Regions from separate parts of the Homo sapiens genome. Here region 2 is linked to region 1. Evidence: promoter capture Hi-C in human tissues and cell types (Jung and others, 2019). All regions are on one chromosome and are shown on one strand. The core of a region is centred on a gene start or on the middle of the fragment in contact, and the rest is flanking DNA. Distances in the headings are between cores, read along the strand shown.

Region 1 (4,133 bases), core at 708-3,207:
TTCATACAATGTTTTCTCTGATCTCAGTTTATAAATTTTCCCAGTACACATTCTATGTTTTATATTTTATGCATAGTGAACTAGATACATAGGGCAATGTATATATATATATAGAATTGCTGTATTGCCTGGCTGTTTCATAAATGTAGTTGTGACATCATAATTGCACCCTCCGGCACTATTAGTCAATTCTTTTTTTTTTTCTTAGAGACGAAGTCTCACCCTGTCACTCAAGCTGGAGTGCAGTGGTGGGACCTTGGCTCACCACAAACTCTACCTCCTGGGTTCAAACGATTCTCTTGCCTCAGCCTTCTGAGTAGCTGAGATTACAGGCACCCGCCACCACACCCAGCTAATTTTTTTGTATTTTTAGTAGAGTTATGGTTTCACCACGTTGGCCAGGCTATTCTTGAACTCCTGACCTCATGGTCTTCCCACCTCGGCCTCCCAAAGTGCTGGAATTACAGGCATGAGCCACTGCACCCGGCTGTTAGTGAATTCTTATTCATTATAATGCTGCATATTTTTTTGACCTCATACATCAGAAGGTAGTGATCTTAACATGTATTTCAGTTCTTATATTGTGTGCTGGTGGTAAGTAGAAGTTGTGCTTTTTTCTTAACAGGGAATTGTTTAGAATTCTGCAGTTTGTATAAATGTACTTATGATTTGCTTGCTGGTTTTATGCGTTACAGTTATTTTACCAATTCATTTTTATGATTTTACATAAAGCTTTTCGGTATGTGGTATGCAATATAACTGACACAGTTTACTAGTTAATGTCACAAAGTGCCAGCGGGTGCTGTGGCTCACGCCTGCAATCCCAGGACTTTGGGAGGCTGAGGCGGGTGGATCACTTGAGGTCAAAAGTTCAAGGCCAGCCTGGCCAATATGATGTAACCCTATCTCTACTAAAAATACAAAAATTAGCCAAGCATGCTGGCATGTGCCTGTAATCCCATGTACTCAGGAGGCTGAGGCAGGAGAATGGCTTGAACCCAAAAGGTGGAGGTTGCAGTGAGCTGAGATCAGGCCATTGCCCTCCAGCCTGTTGTGACACAGTGAAACATTGTCTCAAAAATACAAAAATAAAAAAAAAATTTTAAATGTTACAATATGCCTTTTCTGCATGGATATAGGTAATTTTATGACAGTTATTCAGAAAAATATTTTTTTTTTTTTGAGATGGAGTCTCACTTTGTCATCCAGGCTGAAGTACAGTGGTGCGATCTCGGCTCACTGCAACCTCTGCCTCTTGGGTTCAAGCAATTCTTGTACCTCACCCTTGCGAGTAGCTGGGAGTACAGACGTGCACCACCATGCCTTGCTAAATTTTGTAAACTTTTCTTATCTTCTCAGTGCTATGATTATTTAACAATACAGAATTTCCATTGATTTTGGTTATCCTTACATGAGCTTGCTGTGGATTATTTACCAGTATATTATATTGTGTGGTCCTTTAGTATTTATTTGTATACAGTAAGTATGCTGTAAATATGAAGAATATATACTTTTCATTGATGTGACAGTGATATGTCTTTTGCAAACTGTTAGACACTTTAGGGTCACAGTGGAAAAATACTCCTTATTTTAGGCTTACACATGTTTGTGCCCTTCAGTGTTTTGTCATGATATTGGAAATAAGCTTTCATAATAATAATTTGAAGCACATGTAATCGCCCTTTATTTATTAAAGAATCTTACGATTTTGTGTTCCTAAACTTTGAAGATCATGTTTGGGAAGTTTAAAATCAGTATTGTCTTTTGTGTACCTATTAGTGTTTATATTTTGTAGGTATCTCTTCCAAATGCACAATGAAGGAGTTCTCATCAACAGCACAAGGCAATACAGAAGTGATCCACACAGGGACATTGCAAAGACATGAACGTCATCACATTGGAGATTTTTCCTTCCAGGAAATTGAGAAAGATATTCATAACTTTGAGTTTCAGTGGCAAGAAGATGAAAGAAATGGCCATGAAGCACCCATGACAAAAATCAAAAAATTGATGGGTAGTACAGAGCAATATGATCACAGGCATGCTGGAAACAAGCCTATTAAATATCAGCTTGGATCAAGCTTTCATTCACATCTGTCTGAACTCCACATATTTCAGCCCAAAGGGAAAATTAATAATCAAGTGGAGAAGTCTATCAACGATGCTTCCTCGGTTTCAACAGCCCAAAGAATTTCTTGTAGGCCCAAAACCCATATATCTAATAACTATGGGGATAATTTTCTGAATTATTCATTACTCACACAAAGACAGGAAGTACGCATGAGAGAAAAATCTTTCCAATGTATTGAGAGTGGCAAAGCCTTTAATTATAGCTCACTCTTAAGGAAACATCAGATTATTCATCTAGGAGAGAAACAATATAAATGTGATGTATGTGACAAGGTCTTTATTCGGAAGCGATACCTTGCACGCCATCGTAGATGTCACACTGGTGAGAAACCTTACAAGTGTAATGAGTGTGGCAAGTCCTTCAGTCAGATGTCATCCCTTACATATCATCATCGACTTCATACTGGAGAGAAACCTTACAAATGTGAAGAATGTGACAAAGCTTTCAGACACAATTCAGCCCTTCAAAGACATAGGAGAATTCATACTGGAGAGAAACCACATAAGTGTAATGAGTGTGGCAAGACCTTTAGTCAGAAGTCATACCTTGCATGCCATCGTAGCATTCATACTGGAAAGAAACCTTACGAATGTGAAGAATGTGACAAAGCTTTCAGTTTCAAATCAAACCTTGAAAGTCATAGGATAACTCATACTGGAGAGAAACCATACAAGTGTAATGATTGTGGCAAGACCTTCAGTCATATGTCAACCCTTACATGCCATCGTAGACTTCATACTGGAGAGAAACCTTACAAGTGTGAAGAATGTGATGAAGCTTTCCGTTTCAAATCAAGTCTTGAAAGACATAGGAGAATTCATAATGGAGAGAAACTGTACAAATGTAATGAGTGTGGCAAGACCTTCAGTCAGGAGTTATCCCTTACCTGCCATTGTAGACTTCATAGTGGAGAGAAACCTTGCAAGTGTGGAGAATGTGACAAGGCTTACAGTTTCAAATAAAATCTTGAAATACGTCAGAAAATTCATACTGGAGAGAAATGTTATAAGTGTAATGATTGTGGCAAGATCTTCAGTCATACGTCATCCATTGTATACCATCATAAATTTCATAGTGGAGAGAAACCTTACAAATGTGAAGAATGTGATGAAGCTTTCAGTTTCAAATCAAACCTTGAAAGACATAGGAGAATTCACACTGGTGAGAAACCTTACAGGTGTAATAGGTGTGGCAAGACCTTCAGTCATACATCATCCCTTACATGCCATCATAGACTTCATACTGGAGAGAAACCTTACAAATGTGAAGAATGTGATGAAACTTTCAGATACAAATCAAATCTTGAAAGACATAGGAGAATTCATAATGGAGAGAAACCGTACAAGTGTAATGAGTGTGGCAAGACCTTCAGTCAGAAGTCATGCCTTACACGCCATCATAGACTTCATACTGGAAATAAATCTTATAAGTGTAATGAGTGTGGCAAGACCTTCAGTAAGGAGTTAACACATGCCATCATAGACGTCATACTGGAGAGAAACCTTAGAAGTGCAATGAGTGTGGCAAAACCTTTCATAGGCAGTCAGCGCTTATTTACCATCAAGCAATCCATGGCAGAGGGAAACTTTACAAATGTAATGATTGTCACCACGTCTTCAGTAATGCTACAACTATTGCAAATCATTGGAGAATCCATAATAAAGAGAGACCTTACAAGTGTGATAAATGTGACAAATTTTTCAGACATCGTTCATACCTTGCAGTTCACGGGCGAACTCATGCTGGAGAGAAACCTTACAAATGTGAAGAATGTGATAAAGCTTTCAGATTCAAATCAAACCTTGAAAGTCATAGGAGAATTCATACTAGAGAGAAACCTTACAAGTGTAATGAGTGTGGTAAGATGTTCAGTCAAAATTCGGCCCTTGTAATTCATAAGGCAATTCATACTGGAGAGAAACCTTACAAGTGTAATGAATGTGGCAAGGTTTTTAATCGCAAAGCAAAGCTTGCATGTCATCATAGACTTCATACTGGAGAG
Region 2 (4,232 bases), core at 567-3,066, 340 kb before region 1:
TTAGTAGAGACAGGGTTTCACCGTGTTAGCCAGGATGGTCTCGATCTCCTGACCTCGTGATCCACCCACATTGGCCTCCCAAAGTGCTGGGATTACAGGCATGCGCCCGACCTCAATCTAAATTTTCTTGACATCCTTTTTGGTACCAGCTGAGCCCTGACAAAGGAAGGTAATTCAGAGACATTTTCTCTTGTGATCAGAGAAATAACCTAATGAGAATAAACTTATGTTGATTGGGTTTTTTTGTTTTTTGTTTGTTTTTGAGACAGGGTCTCACTCTGTCCCCTAGGCTGGAGTGCAGTGGCATGATCACAGCTCACTGTACCCTCCACCTCCTGGGCTCAAGCCATCCTCCCAGCTCAGCCTCCTCAATAGCTGGGACTAGAGGGTCACGACACTATGCCCAGCTAATTTTTTTGTATTTTTTGTAGACATAGGGTTTTGTCACGTTGCCCAGGCTGGTCCCAAACTTCTGAACTCAAGTGATCCGCCTGTGTCAGCCTCCCAGTGTGTTGGGATTACAGGTGTGCACCACCATGCCCAGCTGAAAATAAAATTAAGGTGAAGAAAGTTGTTCTCTGTGATCTCAGGGGAAAACCTTCAGGTAAATTTGCATTCAGATTGAATAGAAGAAACATACAAATGTGGATGAACTAGATACTACTTTAAAAGTCTTTCTAGCGCCAGGCTCAGTGGCTCATGCCTGTAATCCCATCACTTTAGGAGGCTGAGGCAGGCAGATCATGAGGTCAGGAGATCAAGGCCATCCTGGCCAAAGTGGTGAAACCCCATCTCTACTAAAAATACAAAAACTAGCTGGGCGTGGTGGCATGTGGCTATAATCCCAGCTACTCGGGAGGGTGAGGCAGGAGAATCGCTTGAACCAGGGAGCTGGAGGTTGCAGTGAGCCGAGATCACGCCACTGCACTCCAGCCTGGGTGACAGAGTGAGACACCTTTACAAAAAATAAATAAATAAAGTATTTCTGTCCACAAACCAGCTTGGAGTAGGTAGGTAGCCAGGCATGAGCAGTTAAAGGAGCCCCTGGGAAAGGAATCTTAAGAAACACAGCCCACTGACAATCCCCTTTTGACAGCAAAAGCAGGACAGTGGCTACATTGCCTACACCTGTCCTTGTGGCTGGACTTGTCTGGCCCAGGAAGGGAGTTATCTGGCCCTAGCCAGAAATAACCCAGCTAGGGGATTTTCCCTATTAAGGAGCGTGCACACTCCTCTAATAATTCATCCTAGAATGGCCTTTTGCTCATTATAATACTAAGAAACACATCCCCTTTTTTCAAATATGATTTTAGAAAAAAATAAATAAGGGCTGGGTGCGGTGGCTCATGCCTGTAATCCCAGCACTTTGGGAGGCCGAGGCAGGTGGATCACGAGGTCAGGAGATCCAGACCATCCTGGCTAACACGGTGAAATCCCGTCTCTACTAAAAATACAAAAAAAAAATTAGCTGGGCGTGGTGGCAGGCACCTGTGGTCCCAGCTACTCAGGAGGCTGAGGCAGGAGAATGGCGTGAACCCGGGAGGCGGAGCTTGCAGTGAGCCGAGATAGCGCCACCGCACTCCAGCCTGGGCGACAGAGTGAGACTCCGTCTCAAAAAAAAAAAAAAAAAAGCCACACCCCTGGGTGGAGATTTGAGATGCTAAGGAGATATGTGATGTGTGCATGGACAGTCACAGCACATTCCTGCCCAAATGACTTCCCAGAACATGCTTACTAATAATGGCTGTGCACGGCCCCTTCATGAATAATCATGTCAGGTTCTCATTAAAAGGGTCAGGCCAGCATAAGTAAGGACAGACTCCTTCTTTTCAGGAGCCCACTCGGTTCTGTCGTTCAGGGTGTCGCTTCTTTCTGAGCTCCTGTCTCTTTAAATGAAGGGCATTTACCCTTTAACTCTTTCTGCGCATCTCTTGACTGAATCCAAGAAGACCAAGAACCAGAGGACTTCCACACCCCTCTGGGTAACATCTGGTGTTTTCACCTGGTTACCTGGTTACCTCGCCTGGTTATCCAGGTAAGTACCAAAAAGCTGGTGCCAGATTCTCTGGTTGACGACCTCTGCTTCTTTCTGCACTGAAGAACCTCCTGCCCTAATGCAGATCTGGCAGCTTTAAGGGGAGGGGTTTTTCCTCTCAGGCTCTGTTCACTAACGACTGCCCAGTACCATTTCCCTTCAGCCACTGTCACTCTGCTCCCTCTGGCTGATTTCTCAGCTCACCCTGAGGGGTGATAAGCAGAGGAGGGAGGATTTAAACTCCACAGTGAGTAGATCTGAGACACATGGTGACCCTTCTTGCAGGAGGCTTGTGAAGGTGGCAGGGAATACGCCTGGCTGTGCAGTGACTGGGGAGCTTCATATTTTTTTTTGTGGGGGGGAGGACAGAGTCTCACTCTGTCGCCCAGGCTGGAGCGCAGTGGTGTGATCTCGGCTCACTGCAACCTCCACCTCCCGGGTTCAAGCGATTCTTCTGCCTCAGCCTCCCGAGTAGCAGGGACTACAGGCGTGTGCCACCATGCCCGGCTAATTTTTGTATTTTTAGTAGAGACAGAGTTTCACCATATTGGCCAGGCTGGTCTCGAACTCCTGACCTCGTGATCCGCCCACCTCGGCCTCCCAAACTGCTGGGATTACGGGCGTGAGCCACTGCGACCGGCGCATATCTTTTAATTAAAACTACAATCCGGTGTTAAGTCAGCTCTTATACTTGCCATTCATGGCCGTTCACTCCCCTGAACACCATATGCCCCCACCGTTGATTAATCTCCCAGGTCACTCTGCTTACTCTTTGCTGTCCCTCTCCTCGCCGCAGGGATTTCATGAATTCTTCCTGCGGGTGCAAGCCTCTTGCAGGGCCTGTTTATCCAGGACCTGCTGCGTTTGCTTCACTCAGGCGCCAGAGTCCTTTGAGGGCCTATGCTGATGTTTATACTTTTTTCCTCAGAAATGAGACTCAGCTTTGTCCTTTCCCTTGCCTCCTGTTTCACTGGAGGGACCGGCACTGGGAGGATGCCTGCTTAAAGAAATCCCTCATTTTGGCCGGGCACGGTGGCTCATGCCTGTAATCTCAGCACTCTGAGAGGTTGAGGGGGGTGGATCACCTGAGGGCAGGAGTTCAAGACCAGCCTGGCCAACATGGTGAAACCCCATCTCTACTAAATATACAAAAATTAGCCGGGCGTGGTGGCACACGCTTGTAATCCCAGCTACTTGGGAGGCTGAGGCAGGAGAATCGCTTGAACCCGGGAGCTGGCCATTGCAGTGGGCCGAGATCGCACCATTGCACTCCAGCCTGGGCAACAAGAGCGAAACTCTGTCTGAAAAAAAAAAAGAAAGAAAGAAATCCCTCACTTATTATTGGGTCCTTCTCCGCCTGCCTACTCTTCAAGAATGCCTCATTCTGTGACTCCTCAATGGAACTGCCTGGCTCTTCCAGAGGGTCACCTGTGACCACTTCCTTACTCCCTAGTTTCTCTGTACAACCAGGGTTTCCAATGGGCCACAGGAGACTGCTTTCTCCACCTCATTAGGCCATTGTAACAGACCCGTGAAGTACTCAGGTCCTTTTTGCTTTTTGTTGAATAAGCTGATAGAAAATGCTTCTCACATTCCCCTTGCTGTTTATGTGATCATATAATGGACTAAAAAACCAGAATCAACAGCCCAGTTCACTAACTCTGAGCCCCAGGGGGTCTTCTATGCTTTTCAAGCATTTTTTTCTGTATAAACCCCAAGGAACCTTTTAAGAGTGGGGGAAGATATCACATCTTTTCCGTTCCTGTAATCATTAGTATTAGCCCAATATCATTATGTATTAAGAAGACCTAGGCTGGGCGCATTGGCTCACGTTTGTAATCCCAGCACTTTCGGAGGCCAAGGCGGGCGTGTCACCCGAGGTTGTGAGTTCGAGACCAGCCTGATCAACATGGAGAAACCCCGTATCGGCTGGGCACGGTGGCTGATGCCTATAATCCCAGCACTTTGGGAGGCTGAGGCGGGCAGATCACGAGGTCGGGAGTTTGAGACCAGCCTGGCCAATATGGTGGAACCCTGTCTCTACTAAAAAATTAGCCGGGCCTGGTGGCATGGATCTGTTATCCCAGCTATTCAGGCGGCTGAGGCAGAAGAATCTCTTGAACCCTGGACACAGAGGTTGCAGTGAGCTGAGATCGTGCCACTGCACTCCAGCCTGGGTGACAAAGTGAGACTCCAT

The links. The method cuts DNA at HindIII sites, captures the fragments that hold promoters and counts their contacts. A contact is called where the count stands out against the background at its distance.
Region 2: the fragment with the promoter of ERVV-2 here is called in contact with a fragment that was not itself captured in region 1 in 3 of the 25 tissues and cell types used here (dorsolateral prefrontal cortex, mesenchymal stem cells and stomach).

What each region holds. Positions count from the first base shown.
Region 1 is chr19:53,378,927-53,383,059 of GRCh38, forward strand. It overlaps ZNF525 (zinc finger protein 525), which reads left to right. Exons shown (of 4, transcript NM_001348156.2): 4 at 1,796-4,133. The coding sequence ends at 3,093. Among named protein-coding and RNA genes, the nearest start is that of ZNF765, 14 kb to the right of the region's middle. The HindIII fragment of the contact is 5,110 bases long and covers 1-4,133 here.
Region 2 is chr19:53,042,924-53,047,155 of GRCh38, forward strand. It overlaps ERVV-2 (endogenous retrovirus group V member 2, envelope), which reads left to right and starts at 1,817. Exons shown (of 2, transcript NM_001191055.2): 1 at 1,817-2,035. The HindIII fragment of the contact is 12,011 bases long and covers 1-4,232 here.